Regions from separate parts of the Homo sapiens genome. Here region 1 is linked to region 2. Evidence: promoter capture Hi-C in 16 types of primary human blood cells and fetal thymus (Javierre and others, 2016). All regions are on one chromosome and are shown on one strand. The core of a region is centred on a gene start or on the middle of the fragment in contact, and the rest is flanking DNA. Distances in the headings are between cores, read along the strand shown.

The links. The method cuts DNA at HindIII sites, captures the fragments that hold promoters and counts their contacts. A CHiCAGO score of 5 or more calls a contact.
Region 1: a fragment that was not itself captured here is called in contact with the fragment with the promoter of ZNF2 in region 2 in 4 of 17 cell types (fetal thymus, naive CD8 T cells, non-activated CD4 T cells and 1 more); the score reaches 10.2 in fetal thymus.

The regions. Positions count from the first base shown.
Region 1 is chr2:94,984,764-94,988,645 of GRCh38, reverse strand. No RefSeq gene overlaps it. Among named protein-coding and RNA genes, the nearest start is that of MAL, 39 kb to the left of the region's middle. The HindIII fragment of the contact is 2,095 bases long and covers 892-2,986 here.
Region 2 is chr2:95,163,450-95,167,079 of GRCh38, reverse strand. It overlaps ZNF2 (zinc finger protein 2), which reads right to left and starts at 1,271. Exons shown (of 5, transcript NM_021088.4): 1 at 1,220-1,271. RefSeq lists enhancers at 1,155-1,584, 1,012-1,646, 1,647-2,283. The HindIII fragment of the contact is 3,796 bases long and covers 1-3,630 here.

The DNA of each region.
Region 1 (3,882 bases), core at 690-3,189, 180 kb after region 2:
GGTCTTGAACTCCTAGCCTCAAGCAATCCTCCTGCCTTGACCTCCCAAAGTGCTGGGATTATAGGTGTGAGCCATTGTGCCCGACCTTCACTCCCTTCTGTGTATCTCAGCCAAAAGATACACAACTTCAGGTTCTGCTTTTCAAAGTATATCCCTGGTTTTCTGGGACTAACAGTTTGTATCCTACAACTGGCCAATAAATAGATATAGGTATGTCACCCTTTCCCTTCTCAGGCTTCCACTGTGGTTGTCCTGAGGAGAAAAAACACTTTTGGATTTATGGGCTGTTAAGGAGAAAAAGGTAAAAGGAAATGAAAAGCCAGACTAGAATAGGAAGGTGACCACAAGGCATAGACTCCTCGGCAAGGAATTCAAGCAGCAGAAGGTATCAGATGGCAGTTCTCTGGACTTTCCAAGGGAGTCAGAGTTGTCATGTGGACTAAATGAGATGGTCTGAGTGGGAGCATCTTATAAACTGTAAAGTACCTGGTCAATGTGAGGAGGTGGTGGTGGGAAACACCTCCAGCAGCCTGGCCGTCTGTGTCATTCACTGCTGTATTCCTGGTGCCCAGCCCAGGGTCTGAAAAAATAGGTGGGGAGGGAGGGACATCAAAGTACATTCTTTTGAATGAATCTGCGATGACACCACCACCTCCTCACATTCACCAGGTACTTTACAGTTTATAAGATGCACTCACTCTGACTGTCTCATGTAGTCCACGCAGCAACTCTAACTCCCTTGGCAAGACCAGAGAACTGCCATTTGCTACCTTCCGCTGCTTACTGCCAGCTCACCAGTGCCAGGCGTGGGGCCAGCAACGGCACCTGGGCCCCATTTTGCCAGCCAGTGTCTGCAGAGGGGTCGCAGTCCCCTTCCTGCCATCAGAAGCTTCCCTGGCCAGATGTAGCCATATGCACGTTACTTACATTTGCACATTTAATCTTCGCCATAGTCCAGGAGGTGGTGCTGTCCTGGAGGGGACTGGGGCCCAAGGTCACACGGGCAGGGCATGGTGCTGCCTGGACATGGTGTAGGACACTTGTGGGTCTCCCCCAAAAACCAGATTTCACACCTGAGGGCAGGGGCAGGTAGAGGCTCCTAGAATGAGCCCAGAGGGTGGCCTGCCAGAGCCTCAGCCAAGGTTGGCGTGGGGAATTAGGAGTCTTGATGGGGCATCATGCCTGCAGTGCCACGGAGCCCATCAGTGGCTTCCTCTCTCCGGGTTCCAGCTATGGCTTAGGGATCCCTGTCCTACCTTTCGTGACATGCCAGGGGTCCCTGAGCATTTGGGAATCTACTCAAACATCGTGGGAGCCTTCCTGCAATGGCTTCAGTGTTGCAGAATCAATGTTGTGCGGAAGAAAGTCACTTCCTCTTTCCACACCCCTCTGGCTCCTAAACAGTAGGAGGGACCACAGCCAAGGACTACAGGTGGATGTAAACCCAGTAGTAGAGTTTGTTATCTCATTTCTGTCTCAAGTAGTCTAGGTTGGATTCTTTTTAGGTGTGAAATCTTTGAGTATTTGTATTTACTTTTTAATTAAAACTCATACTTAGTTTTCCAAATTTCCTGGTGGCCTAAACTTCCCTCTCATTTTAATGCTTATTTGTGTATTTTCTCAGAGCAGGAGATATTTTTTAGTGGCTGGGACTGGCCCTCAAAGTGGAGAAATATTTGATTGCAGCGAGCCATTTACAGTGAGTATATTTCAAGTATAACTTTGGCAGAATCCTTTTTTTTTTTAAATAAGCAAATACACGCAGTCATGTATACATTTCCCAAAAGGCTGAACTTAAACTTGAAAGGACTTCTTAAGGAAGGATGGAGCTTAACAACAGGTGTGTTAACCCATTCTTCTCTAGAACACGGAGAAGAGCCTCCTATATTTAGAAAGTTGGTTAAGAGTAGAATATAAGAACTGGGGTAATAACCCCCAGATTGGAGTCCAGGAAGAAATGGCTGATGCCAGGTTTGGAGAGGGAGGTTGAGCCTGAATGTTACCACAGCAGATGGTGAGAAAACTTCCAAAGGCTGCTGGGCTCTGGTCAAAAGGACTCAGCAGCCTCCTGCTGGCCAAAGATGGGAACACATGAGCTTCTTATCACTACAATGGATTGGAATGCACTAAATTGAAATCCACAAGTTCAAAATGATACTTAAAACAAAAACTTCTTTGGTCACTTTTGGAGGATGCTTATTATTTTGAAAACTGTTTCAAAAGAAAAAGAAGCAAGCAAAAAACATGATATGGGGCAAAGAGCTTGTTAAAAACATGGATACAGCTGGGTGCAGTGCCTCACACCTGTAATCCCAGCACTTTGGGAGGCTGAGACTGGTGGATCACCTGAGGTCAGGAGTTCAAGACCAGCCTGGCCAACATGGTGAAACTCCGTCTCTACTAAAAATACAAAAATTAGCCAGGCATGGTCCTGGGTGCCTGTAATCCCAGCTACTCGGGAGGCTGAGGCAGGAGAATTGCTTAAACCCGGGAGGCGGAAGTTGCAGTGAGCCGAGATTGCGCCATTGCACTCTAGCCTGGGTGACAAGAGCAAAACTCCATCTCAAAACAAACAAACAAACAAACAAACAAATAAAAAACAACCATGGATACCTGAGCACCATCCTCTGGACAGCACTGTTTGAGTCCTTCTCCTCCTAGAACCCTTTGCAGAATTCAAGAAAGTCTGAGGGTCGGGTTCCTGCCCAAAGATTCTGCTTGAACAGGTAAGGGAGGCTGCATTGTTGAAAGCTCCCCAGGCAGGGTGGCCAGGGCTGAGGAAGCCTGAGGCCAGCTTTCTGCCTCCACTCTCACCCTCAATCCACGCACCAGGCAAGAGCGTTCCTCCTGGGTTTGAATCCCAGCTCTGCCTGGTGGCAAGGTCATTGAACTCCCCTGTGCCTCTGTGTCCCTGTCCATCAAATAGAGGAGGTGGGGGTCCCGCTGGCCCCTCTATCATCCGGTCCTCATGATGGCTTAACAAGCTTCTCTGGCACATGGTGAGTGTTGGCCAAAATAACCATAACCATTGGAATGGCACAGACGGCAGGAGGGGAGGTTCCCTGAGAAAGACCCAGAGAGGGAAATATCCCTAAGGGTTGGGAAGTTCACTCCTGGGACAGAGGGGAGGGAGACCAATCAGCTGGGTTGGCGAGATAGCATTGAGATGGGAAAGAATAAGGAGGATAGCCTCTGTGGAGAGTGGATCTGCTCCGTTGCACAGAGCAGCTGGAAGCCTCTCATGGGCAGGCGGGGGCTGCTGCAGGGGCTGGACTGCTGCTGAGAAGTGAACTTTACACGCTGTGACAGACACTACCCAAGTAATGACTCCATGGGAAGGGCAAATGAGGTGTCAGGAGGATGCGTGCTCTCAGGTCAGTGTGGCAGGGCTTTGGGCTGTGGCTGGGAAGTATGGGTTTGGGCTGGGGCAGAGGAGGAGCTGAGAAATGGGGAGGAGCACCGGGGGTGGGTAGCCTGGTGGCAGGTTTTTCTGCATAGCTGGGCATTCTTTCAGCAAGGCAGGTTTCATGCACTGCCAACCCCAGATGCCTTTTCTACTACTTGTCTTCCTTTCCATGACAGCTTTGCCTCTCCTTCCCTTCTCTGGTACTCGGGTGACCGCAGGCTGTACCAGGAAGCCTCAAAAACTTCCGGCTGGGAGAAAAAGGCCCAACTCCAGATGGGCAAGTATCGTGTCATCAGCACACCAGGCAGCAGGGGTCTCCTGGTCCCACCCAGGGCCCAGGAGAACTGGGCTCCATGAAGGGCACACACGGGCATTGCCCACAGAGGGAACCCGGATGCCGCGAAGTCTCCCTTTGACAGTGTAATGTTTCAAGATGAAGGAAACTACTGATGCTCGCATTCAGGTGCACACAGTAC
Region 2 (3,630 bases), core at 22-2,521:
TTTGCCCTGGAAACATGGATGCTGCCCATAGCTCAGTCTTTGTACTTTCTTCGTTTTTGCCATCCCTCAGAAAGTCCATCCACATTCAGGGCTCCATTTTCAAACTCTACAGATGTCCATGTCCTGTAATTGTATTGTAATTTTACAATACAACTGTATTGCATTCTTCCAGACTCATCCTGCATTTCCAAATGACTGCAAACCTTAAATCAGGCGTTCCACCATCACCTCAAAACTATCTTCCTTTAGGCAATTCCACACATCAACGCCTCTTCCTGGCTTTACATTTGTATCAGATGTTTTATTGTTCTCCCAGGTGTCCCAAATTCAAACTCTTACCTCACTCTCTTTCCTCCCAAATCTAGTCACCAGGCCCTTTTGACTCTTCTTTTGCAGTGTCATCTGTATCCTTCCCTTTCACTACCACCACCATAATTCAAGTCCACAACATCTTACTCCAAAACTACCATACATTCCTAAGTAGCTCTCTGCTACTGGTCCTTTCCCCTCTCTAGTCCTGAATGTGACCTCTAGAATAACTGTCTCCAAATAGTTTCATTCGTGTCAGTCCCTGGATCACACCTATATAAGCCACCTTGCCTACTGAGTCTTGTCCTGATTCTCTGAGTCCCGGGCCCTGGCTCCCAGCGTACCTTTTCTTCAACCTTGTCTACCACTGTTCCTGCATTTCTGTAAAAACTATCTCCAGCTCAAATCTGCCTAACGCTTAGCTGCTTCTTTCGTGGTTTTTGTTTTGTTGTTGTTGTTTTTCTTTCACGTCAAATCCCACCTCCTCCATGAAGCCCTCCAGCACTCGTGCGGAGGCCCAGGGCAGGGAGCTAAATGAGGCAATCTGAGGCGCTGTCTGGCAAAGACGGAGCGGCAGCATCCTAGATTTGGTGTCAATTCCACCCACGTTCATTAAGCACCCATTATGGGAAGAAGAAACGGGAGAGGCGGAGGAAGACTCCAAACCTCCAACCTTAAAGTCCGGGACCGACATACAATGGGTGCCCAGACCCCACGGGACACACGCACACACGGGGGTGGATGCACAACTTTCCGTCCGCACCGAGACGTCGCGACACACGCTCTGCAGGCTGGCCTCGCCCGTGTCACCCCGTTTTGCTCCCACAGCACCTCCCCAAAGTTCTCATGTCCCCTCTCTCGGCTGCTGCGCTCACTCCGCTCCTTGAAGACACACACCCACAACCCTCACCTCCGGCACAGAGTGCTCGGGACCCGGGAAGACGGCGCCTCTTCAGGTCGGGAAACCAACGCGCCTGCGCACAGGGTCCTGGCGACTGCGCTCCCAATCAATGCGGGGCCTTCGCAAGGACTTCATCTCCCAGAAGTCTCGGCGTCCGGTGCGCTTTAATATGACGTCCGAAAATGTGTGCAAACGCCGGCTTCCCGTGGCTGAACAGGATCCAAAATGGCAGCGCTGTCGCCTTAGCTGGGAGAGCGAGCCGTTGTGGCTGTTTGGGAGACTTATGGTCACCCTGAAGTACTGCCTGCCTCTAGTGTCGCGTCCCTCCAGTATCCGATGGGAGCGCCGTCCGCAGGGAATGTGTCTCTCTGATCATGGTGCCTCGTGTCCAGCTCTGGGGAAGACCGAGACGAAATCGAGTCAGCTGGCGTTGGGAGAGGGCTTATTTCCGCTTCCGCTTGCCCACTTTCAGGAATTTGATTCTGAGAGCAGGGCTGCGGTTCCAGGCAGGGTTTGTACACATATTTGCGTTGGAAGGAGAGAGGAGCCTAGGACACATATGTATTAACTGTGCAGCTGGTCCGACTCCCGACAGCTTCAGCGCACACCAGCCAGCCTTGGAGTTGCTGGAACGGCCCTGGCTGCAAGCTGGAATCACCCGGAGAGCTTTCGACATTGATGCCTGAGGCCCAGCTGTGGAGCGACAGTTTGAAAAGAGCTGCAGGTGACTCTAATGTGCAGCTAAAGCTAGGAACCACTGAGCTACATCTCAGGGAAGACTGAAAATTACAAAGAATATGATAAAATCTTACTTCAGGAACAAAGCTACGTTTTTCCAGGTTAATTTATTAGTGGTTTGGGTTTTTTTTAAGTTTTTGTGGGTACACAGTAGGTGTGAACATTTATGGGCCACCTGAGATATTTTGACACAGGCATGCAATAAGTAATAATCTCATCAGGACAAATGGGATATCCATCACCTCAAGCATTTGTCCTTTGTGTTACAAACGATCCAGTTATATTCTTTTAGTTACTTTAAAATATACAATATTATTGGCTGTAATTACTCTGATGTGCTATCAAATACTAGTTATACTATTTCTTATTCTATTTTTTGTACCCATTAACTATCCCCACTTCCCCACCCCGCCAACCCTTCCCAGTCTGTTAACCATCCTTCTACTCTCCATCTCCATAAGACTACACTTTCATTCAAAAAATCCAAATTGCTCACCATAAGCAAGGCACAGTTACAAATATGAGTAAGTTACTGCCCCAAATGAACTCTTGGTCCAATGGAAAAAATCAGAATGTAAAATCACAATAGAGGCAGTATGTTCTATAATTATGTCACATTCAACATACTATGAGAGTACAATGGAGGAAGCTATTAACTATGGCCGGGAAAGGTGGGAAAGGATTCCTTTCACTGGTATACTTAAATACTTAAGAAAAAAAAAGTGTGATCTAAACAGTGAATAGTACATGCAAAGGCATAGTCTAGAGGATAAAAGTGAAAATAATTAGTAGCAAAATGAATGCCTTGTGGATGAGGTTTAGGGGCCAATAACTATCTTGAGGTAAGGCCAGGTTGTGGCTGCCTTTGTGTTGTACTAAGGGGTTTGGACCTTCCTAGGAGATTAGAGCTTGATTAAAGTCACAACATCCATAAGAGAAATACTTTTTTTTTTTTGTTCCCTTCTGTGTGGTGGTTTTTATTATTTAGCCTTATACTGAGGGTGGAAACTGGGGTCCTGAAAGTGTTTCCTTCTAGAATATTCCCCACCCACTGGCAGGCCCTAGGCTTTGTCTTTACCGCTTCCAGGTAGCTGCCAAAGTGGAAGTTTATGTGCTCTAGGATTTAGCAGTCTAAAAGTCAGGTTTGTTGCTCGATTCTCAGAATTCTAGCTCTCACTTTATTTATTTTTTGAGACAGGCTCTGGCTGTGTCAGCCAGGCCAGAATGCAGTGGCATGCTCTCAGCTCACTGCAACCTCCACCTCCTGGGCTCACGTAGTCCTCCCATCTCAGCCTCAAGAGTAGCTGGGACTACAGGCATGCACCACCATGTCTGGCTACTTTTTGTATTTTTTTGTAGACATGGGGTTTTACCATGTTGCCCAGGCTGGTTTCAAACTCGGGCTCAAGCAATCCACCCTCTTCGGCCTCCCAGAGTGCTAGGATTATAGGCATGAGCCACTGCACCTGGCCCATTTCACTTTATTTTTTTAAATGTTTACAAATTCCTCACTTTCATGCCTGCTCATCAGTGTGTTTATAAAGATGTTTGCAATTTTTCAGCATTTTTAGTTTTTTTATTAAGAGGGCTGTTTAGGCCATCTAATCGGCCATGTTACTGGGAAGATTAAGAGAATTTTAACTGATATTCTCAAAAGAGTTAGGAGGAGCATATGGAAGCTA